Regions from separate parts of the Homo sapiens genome. Here all the other regions are linked to region 3. Evidence: promoter capture Hi-C in 16 types of primary human blood cells and fetal thymus (Javierre and others, 2016). All regions are on one chromosome and are shown on one strand. Each heading gives the region's core, a stretch centred on a gene start or on the middle of the fragment in contact. The rest is flanking DNA. Distances are from core to core; before and after follow the strand shown.

The links. Contacts are between HindIII fragments. The CHiCAGO score rates a contact against its expected background, and 5 or more counts as called.
Region 1: a contact is called between a fragment that was not itself captured here and the fragment with the promoter of ST8SIA4 in region 3, in 1 of 17 cell types (M2 macrophages). The highest score is 6.1, in M2 macrophages.
Region 2: the fragment with the promoter of PAM here is called in contact with the fragment with the promoter of ST8SIA4 in region 3 in 1 of 17 cell types (non-activated CD4 T cells); the score reaches 5.4 in non-activated CD4 T cells.

The regions. Positions count from the first base shown.
Region 1 is chr5:102,285,553-102,290,355 of GRCh38, reverse strand. The region is part of intron 2 of SLCO4C1 (solute carrier organic anion transporter family member 4C1); the gene reads left to right. Among named protein-coding and RNA genes, the nearest start is that of SLCO4C1, 8.3 kb to the left of the region's middle. RefSeq lists a silencer at 94-294. The HindIII fragment of the contact is 427 bases long and covers 3,189-3,615 here.
Region 2 is chr5:102,753,564-102,758,548 of GRCh38, reverse strand. PAM (peptidylglycine alpha-amidating monooxygenase) reads right to left here and starts at 3,244. Exons shown (of 26, transcript NM_001177306.2): 1 at 3,201-3,244. RefSeq lists enhancers at 2,521-2,610, 2,182-2,682, 3,690-4,215 and a silencer at 3,001-3,550. The HindIII fragment of the contact is 4,564 bases long and covers 1,053-4,985 here.
Region 3 is chr5:100,900,536-100,905,484 of GRCh38, reverse strand. It overlaps ST8SIA4 (ST8 alpha-N-acetyl-neuraminide alpha-2,8-sialyltransferase 4), which reads left to right and starts at 2,203. Exons shown (of 5, transcript NM_005668.6): 1 at 2,203-2,642. The coding sequence starts at 2,530. LOC107986437 (a long non-coding RNA gene) reads right to left here and starts at 2,077. Exons shown (of 2, transcript XR_001742825.3): 1 at 1-2,077. RefSeq lists enhancers at 801-1,040, 1,821-2,060, 2,546-3,115, 4,253-4,754, 4,861-4,949. The HindIII fragment of the contact is 2,860 bases long and covers 1-2,656 here.

The sequences.
Region 1 (4,803 bases), core at 2,153-4,652, 1.4 Mb before region 3:
AGAGAGTTTGAGCTAGGCGTGGGGGCTCACGCCTAAAATCATTTCGGAAGACTGAGGCAGAAGAATCCCTTGAGCTCAGGAGTTAGAGACCAGCCTGGGCAATATAGTGAGACTCTACAAACAAAAAAAGATTCTGGCCCCTCCCCTGTAGCTCTCTTGCTTCCTCTCTCCCCATGTGATCTCTGTGATCTCTGGCTAGCTGCCCTTTGCCTTCTGCCCTGAGTGGAAGCAGCTAGAGGCCCTCACTAGAAGCAGGTGCTGGCAGTATGTTCTTGTACAGTAGAACTGTGAGCCAAATCAATTTCTTTTCTATATAAATACCTCAGGTGTTCCTTTTTAGCAATGCAAATGGACTAAGACAATATTAAAGTATTAATCTTTCCCAAGATCAATTTTCCAATTCTAGAATGATAACAAACAGGAAAATATTCTCAATAACAAATTATATATTACACAGCATGGTTTTAGAAGTGCACTTATTAGGTAAGTAGGCTTCATTTTAGAAGTAAAAATAGAATATGTAAGCGGATGAATGGAGAGTATTTTTAAAATGTGGTAGAGTTTGGAATGAATAAGATAAGGAGAATAAGTTATCAGCAGAGAGAGCACTTACATAGATTCTAGCACATTATCTGAGATTGGACAAGACTGCACAAGGCAACTTGACATAATTTCACTGGGAATAGTTTTAGGAACAAGCCACATATTGCAGCGTAGGCTTTAGTATAACACTATTGAAATCTAAATCGTAAGGGAATATCTAAATTTTCATCTGCCACACAAGAAAACATAATACTGATTCTATGATAGTTATTTGTTCATAGCATTTAGGTGGTAATCTTTGTGCTGTTTCTGGGCCCTCAACCTTTCAGTTGCTCAGATGCCTTGCTTGTTCTTAAGTAAACAAACCTTGCTCGAAAATCTATGACTCTCTAAACTGAAACGTAAATACTTCTTCCAGTACAAAGCCTGATCTGTCTTCCACGATCTTCTCAGCTTCCTCTCTTGCCATTTATACCTGGAGTTATAGCCATTGTGAAGAACTTATTTTCCTAAAGGAAAATTGCCACAAATTAAGGTGTTTGTGTGTGACCAGAGGTGAAGCTAAGATTGCTGAAGCCAGATCATAAACTTTTAGTAGTGTACTGTGCAGGTTTTCACCAAGTTCTTATTGATCTAATTAACATTTTTCATTATTTTAGTAGATTATTGAAATAGGTTAGAGGAATTGGCTGATCTAAGATTTTTACTGTAAATTGACTCATAATTTAAATAATAGCTTAAATGTGGCAAATGAAAGCAAAAACTCAGCTTGCCCTCCTGTTATTCTGCCATTCATACAATATATATTTATTGATATGGACTACACATGGTGTTGAGATAACACCAGTAAAACAGTTCCATGCCATCTGGATTTTATGTACTAGTGGGAAGAAATATGCAATTAATAAACAAATGAACAAGATAATTGAAAATTGAGGTGAGTGGGTAAAGAGACAAATAGAATGAAGTAATACTGTGTTAAAGGTTAAGTATGATTGCCAGGAAAGGCTACAGTGATAATATCTGGATAGTGAAGAGCTAACCTTGAAAGATAATTTCCAGGCTGGAGAAAAATATGGTTAAGGGCTTTGGAGCAGAGGAGGGCTTGGTAGGTTTTAGGAATAGTCCGTTTTGGTCAGCATTGTCAAAGCAAGGGAGGCTGTTTTGGAGAGGCAGGTAGACACTAGGGAGGCATTTAGATTGTGCTTGAAATGCAATGCAAAGTTGTGGAAGAGTTTTATACAGGGAAGTGCATGATCTTACTGGAGTTTAAGAGACAAGAGTAAATGGGAGCCAATCACTCTGGAAATTTTTATTGTAGTCCAGGTGGGAGATAAATGTGGCTGAGACTGGGGTGGTAGCAGCAGAGATCCAGAAGATGAATGATTCTCAGTGTGTTTTATAGGAAAAAGAAATAGGACTCTGTTGGATATATTGTGAAGGAGGAATGAAGGAGTCCTTGGTATTTGGCTTGATCAGCTGGGGCCGTTTTTACTAGAAGGTGGAAGACTAGGTAGAACAGAATTAGAATGAAATTAAGAATTCGGGTTTGGAGTTTTTTAGTATGAACTGCATATTATATATCCAGTGTTGCAGTGTATATCCCCAAAATACGTGTTTACATAAATGTGCAAGTCATTCACTTGGTTTGATTCCTAGAAGTGCAAATACTGAATTTGAAGGCCTTCCTCATTCTAGTTTTTGATAGATAATGTCACACTGACTTTCAGGAAGGGATATATTAGTTACTCTCCCATTGTTGGTGAATGAAAATGCATCACTGTTGTGTTGAATTTTTGCATTTTTTTCCCCTGTGATTTTTCTTAACAGAAGTGTCATTGTGGTATGTGTAGGTGTTTATAATATGACAGACACAAAATTCAGGATTGAAATTGCATTACACATTTAAAGGAATTCAGACATTTAGAAACGGAAGGGATGTTAGAAATGATAAAACCTGGCCGGGCGCAATGACTCATGCCTGTAATCCCAGCACTTTTGGAGGCCAAGGTGGGCGGATCACAAGGTCAGGAGTTCGAAACCAGCCTGGCCAACACAGTGAAACCCCGTCTCTACTAAAAATACAAAAAGAAAAAAAAAATTAGCCATGTGTGGTGGCATATGCCTGTAGTCCCAGCTACTTGGGAGCCTGAGGCAGGAGAAATGCTTGAAGCAGGGAGGCCGAGGTTGCAGTGAGCTGAAACCGTACCATTGCACTCCATCCAGCCTGGGTGACAGAGCAGAGACTCCATCTCAAAAAAAAAAAAAAAAAAAAAAAGAAGTGAAAAAACCTCTTCTTTTTATAGTGTAAGCCTTAGGGCAAGAGGTGAATTGATTTCACAGATGGTTAACAACAACTAAAACTAATCCTAATTTTTATGGTTTGTTTATTGTTTTTCAAAAGTGTATGCTTATTACTCATACTAAGTTATTAACTATATTGAATGATTTTAATATTTTTTATGAATTTCAAGCATTTCTTCCCCAACTTCTAGTAGTCAGGTACAGTGGTCTATATTAATCTACTTTTGCAAGTATGGGAATCTATAACGAAAAATCTGAATTATTTGTCAAACTTTAGGGAGAGTAGAGAAGAAAACTTAGGAAAAGGAAACTGCAAAAAGAAAACAGATTAGTTGAAAGCTTCCTGTAAATTAATTAGAGGCAAGGGGATGTGTAATCTTCTTAAGTAACTTAACATAACATAGAGCATAATATTAATAAATGATTTTATTAATTGAAATTATACATGTAATTTAATTTAAGATGGACAGTGAGGAAATTAACATACCCTTCTGTGCTTTTTCTGTTGTTCTTAAGGGAAATCAAAATCAGGGCTCACTTTGGATGGGATAATCTCTGTAAGAGGAAACTAAAGTAATATAGCTAGTAAGTAGAAAAAAACATAAAATATGATAAACATGTATGATTTCTACAGGTGTGAGAATAACACAAAAGAACGTTAAGAACAAAAGTTAAGAAGATATATTTTGAAACAGCGTGGACTTTCTATTGTGTTGTAAACAATAAATTTAAGTAGGTTGGAGAGAAAGTGTTTTTTTAAGGGAAGCTTTTAGAAAGACATAAGCATTAGAGGTGATTAACTTTGAATGGAGATGATCAAAGGGAAGTTGTGGTTGTTACTGGACTAAAAAAAGAGGTAGTATTAAAATTAAGAGGAACAAATACATGCTATTAAGGGCTAATTTTTTGTACAAGTTAACCCAAACATAGTGTCAAAACACTTTTAAATAAGTCATATTTGACATTCATTTTGACTTACTTCAACATAATATTAATATGACACAACATATTGTAGTATGACTTTAAAATATTTAAAATGCGATAAGTAAATCTTTACCACGTAACATTTTTTTCATCTAAGCAATCTTAATTTCTTTTAGATGAGTGTTATTTTAATGTTACCATGCAAAATAATCTTTATGTCTCTTTGAGACTTTGGGAGAGAGGCATTATTAAATACTGAGGAATTGTAGAAAAGTAGTTACTTAGCCTAGTAAAGCTCTTTTTATTTATTGACCAATAATTAGATAATTTTTCCTACGTTGCACTATATCTTTGTTTCTCTTTTCCATCTCCTTTCCCTCAAAGAAACCTTAAATGATAAAAATTCACATTAGCTGTAGCACTAAATTTCTAATTTTTTTTTTATTGGCATTTGAGAGAGAATGCTTCATCAAAGGACTTTGGTTATGCTTGGTAACTACTTACAAAAGCTGTGCTAGGAAAATGATTACAGTAGGACTCAAAGTGGACTTTACTTCTGGTTACTATTTTATCTTTTTTTCTTAGAATACTTTTTTCTTTAATGGAATGCTTGCCTAGATTTGAGAAGACCTAGGGCAAAGAATTTTAGAGGTTTTCAAGCACAAATTCAATACAGGAAGCTTTAATTTTGCTTGGCCTCTGAGTGTTTTTCCTTTTTTGATATTATTTTTTACTTTACGGAAGTCACTTATTTTTCTTAAATTTTACTTCTTTGTAACTGAAATGAATAAAGGAGTAATAAGAAGAGGTGATTTTTTTAGATTAGAAGCTATAATGGTGTAATAAAACAAATGATTCAATTTTAAATTTAATACATACAGTAAAAGGCCTAGAGCTACCTTTTAGCAATAGTTAATGCTCTAGATAAAACTATCACAATTTTTTATATCAGAGGCTTTTCAGTCTTTCTCATACTTCCTAGATAATATGAATTACCCTGAGCCAGGCTCAATGGCTCACACCTGTAATCCC
Region 2 (4,985 bases), core at 1,995-4,494, 1.9 Mb before region 3:
TCTTTTGAGCTATTTGTATGTGGTTTTAATAATTAGCTTTCGCATTCAAATGGTAAAGAAAGTTCTTATACACACAAGAAGCATTTATGGCTATTATACCAGATGACACGGCTTCCAGGGCAGTAAGAAGGATCTTTAATCTCATTTCACAAATAGAAAAACAAAGGTATGGAACAATAAAGCCAAGTGTAAAGTTAACATTATGTCCCTCAGGCTGCCCCTCAGCCTGCCATGCCTTAATGTGAGAGTCCAATCAAAGCCTCAAAGCCCAGTATGTAAAGCCTAATAAATTCTGCACATAGCAGATAGATAAATTCTTCCTAGGAGGAGGAAAAGAATCAGAGATGTCACTGAGTCACACAAAATACAACCTAGACAGAAAGTCAAGATCCCTGGTCAATCTTTTCCAGGTGGAATTCTTGCTCATTCTTTGCCCCAAGAAAAAAAAAAAAAAAAAAAAAAAAAAAAAAAAAAACAAAATTCTAAGTCTTTTTTTTTTTTTTTTTTGAGACAGGGCCTCTCTCTGTGGCCCAAGTTGGAGTGTGGTGGCATGATCACAGCTCACTATAGCCTCAACCTCCCAGTTTCAAGAGATCCTCCCTCCTCAGCCTCTTGAGTAGCTGGGACTACCGGCGTGCACCACCACACCTGGCTTTTTTTTTCTTTTAATATTTTTTGTAGAGAGAAGGTCTCACTATGTTGCTGGTTTCAAACTCCTGAACTCAAGCAATACTCCCGCCTCAGCCTCTCAAAGTGTTGGGATTACAGGCATGAGCCACCACACTCAGTCTCACCAAGTCTCGTAACTTTTAAAGTCAAATTTCCAGAGTCACTTCAGGACCCACCAGGCCTTAAGGTCCAGCTTATTAAAAATCTTACATTAAATCTCTGTATATTTTTTCTAGGCATTATAATTTCCTTCCTCAAGGAGTTGAGAAAAAAACTGTATGTGGGAACCACAACATACAGTTGAAGGAAGTTAGAATTAAAATTTCTATAGCTTTTAACATTTGATTAGCACATCATACATGTGTAGAATGTTTTCCTAAGCTTTCATTCTAAAAACACAGAATTCATTTTATTTCCAAGTGCACCTTGATGAAGTAGGAGCACATGGCATTTTATTTTAGAAAGCAATGTCTTAACAAACTTGTTATTTCTTCCAATTATGCAAACTCACCAAATGATTTTTTATCTATTTATTTATTTAGTTTTATCTTTTTTTGAGAGAGTCTCACTCTGTCACCAGGGCTGGAGTGTGTGGAGTGATCTCAGCTCACTGAAACCTCCACCTCCCAGGTTCAAGCGATTCTCCTGCCTCAGTCTCCCAAGTAGCTGGGATTACAGGTGCCTGCCACTATGCCCAAGTAATTTTTTGTATTTTTAGTAGAGATGGGATTTCACCATGTCGGCCAGGCTGGTACGGAACTTCTGACCTTGTGATTTGCCCGCCTCGGCCTCCCAAAGTGCTGGGATTACAGGCGTGAGCCACCGCAGCCGGCCAAATGATGATCTTAAAGGGCCTTTGATAATGCATTCTTGACCTCATTCTACTTGCCATGTATAGTCATTAGAAGACTGTTCATATAAAAATATGAAATAAAACTACATAGTCTTTAAGTTACCTTGGAAGGCCCTTCAGGACAAGGAACATACTCTATATCTTTATATCTTTAAAGCATATAGCAGAGTGCATCGCGGAATGAAAATGCCTATTAAGTCAGGAATGCAGGAACGACAGGGCTTACCATTTAATATCAATTCTAAAGCTGATTATTTATTTTTGAGACAGGGTCTTGCTCTGTCACCGAGGCTGGAGTGCAGTGGTATAAACACAGTTCACTGCAGCCCTGACTTCCTGTAAAGCTGATTTTTTAGGCCATTTACTTGCTTTATAAAGTAACTAGAATGGCATGAACTATGCTTTTTTGTGCCTGTGATTATAAACTGAAAATTTACAAACAATATGTCACATGTTATTTGAGCTAAATGTCTGATTTTACTAAAATGAAAGTATCCTTCCTGGATTATTAGAATTAGCAGTAAATTTAAGTTTGCACCTAGAAGAGAAAAGCGATTGTAAAGAATGTAAAACATCTGAAGCAAACAAAGTCCAATAAGATCTTCCTTCTACTTGAATTTCTATGACCACAAAGGCACAGGATGTAAGGTCCATAGCTTTGTACACAGGGATTGGTGGGGACGACACGATTTCAACTCTGAACCCCAATGACCAGCTCCAGGAACACATGCCTTTTAGCCCCGCAAAGCTACTGACCAAATCACCCAGAGAGATAATCACATCTCAGCCAAAGGACCTGAACTCAGACGATCAGAACACAGGACCTGCCATCAGGCAGCTGCACGAGACAAGAGACCGTGCTCAAAATCACGTAATACCCTAAGTCATCCCAAGGGAGCCCCACAACTACCCTCAGCGGCAGGCAGAGCTGACGCATATTTTGCAGATGACAACATACAGGTTCCGATGGGGCGGGTCCCAAGGCCACAGAGCTGGGAAGGTGACTGAACCTAGACTTAACTAGTATCCCAAGTGGTGGATACTTCCCATTCTGCCTTGGAGATCGCCCTTCGCCCGCGTATTACATTCGGAGGCTGGCAAAACGGCAGGAAGAGAGCAAAGCTGGGCAAGGACGGGAAAGAAAGAGGGGAAGGAATTTCCACTGCTTCCCGGCACTCGCCCCCACTCCACACCCCAGGTTGCTACTCCGCGGCGGCCTCTACTTCCCCAAACTAGACTGAAGGGCGGGCGGAGAACCGAGGAGGCTTTCTAGGCGTCACGGAGAGTTCTCCAAGTTGGGGGCAGAAAAGGCGAATGAACAAATTGTACCCCCTAGGGAGAGGGCACAAGGAGAAGTGCGGAGGTGAGAAGGACCGGAGGGGAGGACGACCCCTCACAAACTGGCCAGGGACTTAATAATGGTGATGAAGGGTCGTGAGAGAGGTTTGGGAAATGCGAGAATAGCTCAGTCCCCAAAATCCTCCCTGGCCGCATCGCTGGATCCCCGCCCCATCCCCCCACCCCCGACCCGGGCAGCCCGGGAGAAAAAGCAACAACCTCCTGGGGCACCAGGAATTGGTGGCAGCAGGATCCCGAGCCCAGGCCCCCTTCCGCGCCCCCACCCTCACCCTTGCCCTGACCGCCTCGCAGTGGCGGCAGCAGCGGCAACAACACCAACCTGCGCGACCACGGGCTCTGTCCGGGACGGAAGCCGGAGCCTGCGGGCGGCGGAGCGGCGGGCGGAGTTAGTTGGAGGCTCCGGCTCCCTGGGCGGGGACAGGCTGAGCACGCGGAGGCAGCGGCGGTGGCGGGGGCTCCCTCTCCTCGGCGTGCGCCGGGCCCAGCCGGGTCCGCCGCTCGCCCTCGACTCCTGGGGCAGGTCTCAGTCCCTCCCCGGGGGCGGCTCCCGGGCCAGCCCCGCGCTCGCCTCCTCCACGCCGGCGGCCTCTGCTCCGCCCTGCCTCTTTGGGCGCAGGGGGCGCGGAGCTTGGGAAGTGGAGCCCTGGCGAGTCCCCAGCGATTGCGCGCAGCTTCCCGGGGTTTCCCTGCGGGGGTCGCGTGTGCTGGGTGTCTGAACTCACGCGCGGGCCAGAGGTAGCCAAGAGCTGGAACTCTTGCCCAAGTGCCCCGGGGAAGGGAGTGAAGGCCCGGCCTGAAAGTCTCTGACCCTCCCGAGTCTCGTGTCCCTAGAAGCAGCCTTGCGAGGTGGCCACGCCAGCTGCCCTGAGAGAAGCAGAGGAAAATGTCCGACTCTCCCTCCGCCCAGCTTCGCGCCAGAAGAACGTTTCCCGAGAGAAGGAAGGACCCATTGACCCCCAGCCCTTGCTCCAGCCTGGAGACCTGGCTGAGTGCATGGAACTGGAAGGATGGCAGAGTACCGGGGCTGAAAGCCTGGGAAATGTGCTATTTCTATTCACACCACCCCCTTGCCCGGCCCCTGGATTCAGGCCACCTCGCTCAGGTCTGCGCAGTGCTTCCCAGTTCACACCTCCGACCCGAGGAGGGAGGTCGGTATCCCTTTCTTAGCCTGGCTTCCCGCCTCCATCTGCATCCCTTTCTGCTAAACCTTTTTAACCCGCAGAGTGCCCAGCGCGCACACACCGATCACTTCGCCCCTAAACTGCGGGCAGGGAACTCTGGAGCCACCCACATCCCCAGCCTCACCCCAAAGCAAGAGAAAGCAGGGAGCCGCGCGTGGGGTGGTGGGGGCGGGGCTGGAGAGTTCCAGTAGGAAGGTTTTATACCCAAGAGGCTTGATGATGTGCAGTACTGACCCCACACACAAATTGATATGCGTTTAATTGAAGGCAGGTATTTGCCACTGTCTCTCCCTGTCTGCAGGTAACCGCTTGAGTGCGTTCACCTCGCCTCTTCCATCCCCAGCGCCAGCCCAGCCCCCTCTCTTTCTCCCAGAGTCCCATCCTCCTCTCCCTCACCTCTCCCATCCCAGCTCCCTGCAGCGCGGGTCCCGAGCTGCTCCAGATCCCCAGCACCCAGCTCTGGTCTTTCCAGACAACTCCTCCCCTTCAGAATCTGGTGTGGTAGCAGGGAGGTTGTGAGAAGGGACACTGAGGAAGATAAAGAAGGAGAAGCCAGTGGACTGGGAAGAAGGTAGGAAAGTGCGAACCGAAGGGGTACACCGGAGAGGAGCTATGGGAAATGAGGCAAAGCCTTCAGGCTATAGGGGGATTCCCAGAAAGAAAATCATTTTCTCCATAGGGAAACTACCGATGCTCGCTGTAGACCAGTTGGAAAATCTGTTGTACACCCTCCCAACAGAATTCCTAGTGAGCAGTGGCCAGACTGGTCAGGGCCTAGAGCATGTGTCCAGGAACTCCATCCACTTCCCAACCCAAATTCCAAGGCAGGCGGATGACCCTCATTTTGGAAACTTGATTCTGAGAAGGTGCGAGAAGACACCGAGCTGAGTCTGTTTACGGATCCCGGGCTGTTCTTCATCTTT
Region 3 (4,949 bases), core at 954-3,453:
GTTGCGCATACTCCTTTTTCCACCTGCAATGTTCTATCCTCCCTCTGCTTGGCTTACTTCCTTGTCAGCTTTGAAAACAGGAGTCTGTGTGTCCCCTTCACCCGGAAACTCATCTTCCGGGCTTCAAAAGGCTTAAACACCCCATCTGCTTCAACCCAGGAGCTTACTCAGATACCATATATATTTTAAATGATGTTTCTGATTCATGTTGCCATACTGTAAATTATTATTTTTAAAAGATGCCCCCTTTGAGTGAGTAGGATTTGTGTCTGACTAGATGCTAAGTTTTATTCATCTTTGTGTTCCCATCTCCGCACACATTGCCTGCCCCATAACCATTGCTTAAGAAATAATGAGTTTAATGAAACGATGCATATTACTCTATCCCTGACAGAGAGTGATGTTTTACCTATAATCTAAAATATAGTTGTCTACTGTTTAAAAATCAAAGTTTATCCTTGAGAATTTAGCATCCTAACCATGCATCCCTCTCCCACCCGACCCCTGCCCTCAGCCCCGGATCCCTTTTAACTTAAATAAGAAGCTGTTTTATTCTGGCAGTTTTTGCCAGAAGAAAAGTGAGTCTAACAGAAGTCAATCTAACAGAAATGCATTAATGCAGGCTGGATTTGCCTAGACATCAATAAACTCGAAAGGCTCCCTGTGGGCCACTTGTAGTGTCAATAAACGTTCGTAATTACTTGCTCCTTGGAGCATTTTTATACCCGACCCCGTTCGCTGTGCTGCAAAGAGGAAATTCAAGATCTCGGAAGTTCTTAACTTCTTAAACTCTAGAGGAAGTATGGTAAACACTGGCGGGAACCTTGGGTTTTTAAGCAAAGATGCTGGCTGTTTTCGTTGCTATTTTAAGCTGTCAGGCGACAAGCAACTCAGAATTCCCCTTCTTACTTCCGGCGGGAGGGAAGATTGGAATTGGGCCTCATCATTTCTGAGCGTGAAAAACCGCTGAAGCTACTGTTCAACCTGAAGGAACACGGAATTCAACTGGAGAGAAACCCTGGCGACCAGGGAGCTGGGGACCGGCGCATATAGATGAGGGAAATCCTGGCTTCCAGACACTGTCTCATGCTAGAGGTGCCTCCCGACCTACCAGCCAACAGTAAAGACCGGAACCAAGGCGTGGTACTAGCAGAGTAGCAAGCATCTCTCCCAATGAGGGCAACGACTGGAGGATGGTGGAGAGGTACTCAGAGTGAACAATCGAACACAGAACTCTTGAAAAGTGTCCCTGCCACCCAATACAAGTACGAAAAATGGTGGGACGGAGGAGAGGTGACAATCAGAGGCTATATATATAATTGAGACTTTTAGAGAGGACTTTGCTCTTCCTTCCTCCCCTCCCTTTTCTTTCCTTTCTTTCTTTCCTTCCTTCCTTGGTATCCGAATGTGTGTGGGTGTACTTGCGTTTAAAAGAGAGGTCCATGGTAGCTGCTTTTTTTTCAGAACTCTGTTTCTCCGCAATGAAGTTTAAGTGGGATTGGAGTTTCCTTGACTTCTGCGTGAGGAGTTTCCAAATGGCAATGAAAGGGAGGCGCATAAATATCCATAAAGTTCCTAATGACACCTCTATCATCACTTGTTTCCTGCAGAATCCTGAGCCAGGGTCGTCGTCCACCACCCATGCAGAGTGGGCCCATCGGCTAACAGGTTCATGTGTGTATTTGCACTTTCCAGATTGAGTAATAAAAGTCTTCTTCCTTCCACCGCCGTCCCCACCCCCGCACCCCGTTTCACTCCACCTTGGAGGGCGTGTTTTTGCGTGTGAGGGTGTGTGTTTAGCAAAAGCGATTGAAAGAAGGTACTCTTCTTGCAATCCACCCCTAGCTCTACCTGAAGCATTCCTCTGGCGGGACGCTTTTGTAATCTGTCCCCAGGCGAGGTGCCCTCTCACCTAGATGCGGATAGACTATCTTGGAGCTCCCAGGTCCAGAGAGCTGATGCTTTGATGTCCCAGGAGAGTGTGTGTGATTCTGCGTGTACGTGTGTGTGCATATGTATGTATGTGTGTATGTATGTATATGTGTATGTGCGCGAGCTCGCAGGCGCGTAGCACTGTGAGCTTCCTCTCCCGGCACAGAGCAGGCAGAGCCGGGGACGTTACTCTCCAAGCAGCCTCCGCCCCCTCAGCCTGGTGATTGGCTTTGCGCAGCGTTTATCTCCTAGCAAGAGGGAAGGGCCAGTGACGCCCCCGAACCCAGCTGCAGAAGCTGCCGCCACCTCCAATGCACAAGGTGTCTCATCTGAAAAGAAACCTGAGCCCCAGGGAGGCGGCGCGGAGCGACCCTGGCAGAGCTGGCGCAAACAGGGCGAGAGGTCGCTGGGCAGCGTTCGAGGACCAGAGGGAGCTCGGCCACAGAAGACCCCAGTGATCTGATCCCGGGATCCCGGCTCCAAGCTCTCCTCGCATTTTACAGATTTCACCCCCGCGACTATCTCCCCAAAACGGAGCCTTTATATCAAGAGAAGGTGCGGGAGCTGGGGCAACCAGGACTTTCTCGGGCACCCAAGATGCGCTCCATTAGGAAGAGGTGGACGATCTGCACAATAAGTCTGCTCCTGATCTTTTATAAGACAAAAGAAATAGCAAGAACTGAGGAGCACCAGGAGACGCAACTCATCGGGTAAATGCAAAGCTTCATTTCAGGATATGACAAAAAGTCAAGCCATAAATGAAATGTGAATATAGAGGGTAGAGTGATGGTTAGGATAGCATGTGTGTTTGTTTGAGCTTGCGCGTGGTTAGTGTCATGAATTAAATAACAAAGGCTGTTGTTGAGATGTGCGTGCTTCTCTAAGCTGTTCCCAGTATGAGTTCAACTTGCTCTGTGTGGTTGTGGTGACAGTTGTGTTGGCCCTGGGTGCTCTCTCGCCAAAGGAGAAGTCACTGCAGAAGTGTCAACAAAGAACGTGTGTCCTTGTCCTTTTAATCTGTGGGCAGAACTCAAGAGAAATGTCTTTATTCACCAAACGGTTGCCTGTTTTCAATGTCCTATCACCTAAGGAGATACTGGAGATAGATGGTTTCTCGAAGGGCTGAAGTTAAAGCTTAGAAAGCAGGAAATAGGTATACTCTGTTTCTCTACTTTTTTTTTTTCTATTTGACGTTGGATAGATTAATGTGTTATAATTTGAATTAGAAACTCCAGTACCACTAAGGATACTTCCTTATTTGTTCTTCTACGGCTAAAACGCATGGGCGTCATGGTTACAGTTTTAGAAAGAAACTGGGTACTGTAGCTTCACACAGACTATATTTCTGCTATTTTTTTTAGTTTGTCTAGATGAGTTCAGACTCTCCCCCGCCCCACTAAGTTCTCTAAATATCACACTTCCTTCCACCCGCTGGCCTCTGTGTCTTTGAAGTTTACCCAGGAGGTGGTGCAACTTTGTGTTGCTGACATAGCTTGGAAGGCTTTTTCTGAGGATGTGAACCTGATTGTCAACTCTATTCAAAGTCCTGTTTCGGAAATCCTCCCTGTTCCGGTTTGGAGGCGTCCTCTATCAGAAACTACACACCAGCAGAGATGCCTGCCCAGTTTATATTTTTCTCTGACATTGATTAAAACAAAGAAAACAGCCCTTGCGTGTGTGTGTATGTGTGTGTGAGAGAGAGAGAGATGGGACTGCTAACACACACACATGCTCTTAAACTTCCTGCACTCCATTTCTTAATATTCCTGCTCCCTAGGTAATAAGCATTTATTTAAGCGAGCAAGATGCAGGTTGATCCTTACAGAAGGACTTGCTATTCTGTAGAAAACCAGGAAAACAGTAGCACAGTCAAAGCGGACTGGAAGAGAATGAAAAAGCTAGCAAGGAATGGGCTGGAATGGTCGTCATGCATCAACGAATCTATACATGGTCTATTCTGAGGGGGTAAAAAAGACCGGTATGAGGTCGTTTACACAAGACTGGGTGGCTTGAAAATCCAATCTAGCTCAGTTGTTAGAAAAGCAGGACTTTGGGCAGGGGCGTGGGCATCCCTTGCAGACCTGTGCTTGCCAGGCAGACAAAGGGGTCTTTAGAAAGGTGATGAATGGGCGCATGGGGCTCCGATGAGAGGCAGAGGCTAGAGCTTGAGGGTCGAGGCTCTTTGTTCCCTCCCGGGCCGTGGGCTAGGAGGATAAGCCTGATCCCAGACAAAGCGGCCAAGGCTCACTAGGACTCCGAGGGTTCGGGCCCTTGGCTGGGACCCTGGAGAGCAGGAGTGGGCGGAGCGAGTGAGAAGAGGGTCGCCAGATACTGCCGAGGTGTCCATCTCCGAGCCTCCCTAAACCGTGGCCAGGAAAAGGAGCGCACCTCGAGTCCCTGCGGGGAAGCGGAGCCGGGACACTCCGCATTGCACGGGTGTCATTTCTCCTGTGGCCCTTTCCTGGACGTTGCCGGCTGGTGGGCGCAGCCCTAGGCGTTAAGGAAGAGGAGGCGGGCACTGGCGCGGCGGTTGAGCTAGTCGGGCTGGGCTTTTGCCCGCATCCTTTTCAAGCTGAAGCAGTTTCCTCCCAGCTTGACTGAGAAGGCGTTGGGGCAGGCGCTTGAGTAAACCAAACAGGAAGAGAGGCGCGCACCGGGGTTATCCCCTGCTGCCAGAGCGCCGGCGGCGAGGGGGAAAGAATGAGTGAGAAGATAGGGGGAAACCTTTATTGCAGGACTCAGGCTCTTTTGGTCCCTCCCCTCCTTCCACCCCCACCCCACCCCCACCCCCCACCCAAAGTCACTTTCAAAGCTCAGTCGGCAACTGGCTCCTCCTTCTTAATCAAAACCCGCAATTACAGTGGGGCAAGGCAGAGGGCTGGCCGCGAACGTCGCGCTTACACCCGTGCCCTGTAGCGTCCTGACTGCCTTGGTCTCCTGAGAGACCAAGACTGTGCAAGGAGTTGGAGCTGCCAGGAACAATGCGAGGGCAGCTAGGCTCCCTGAGCACTTTCCTT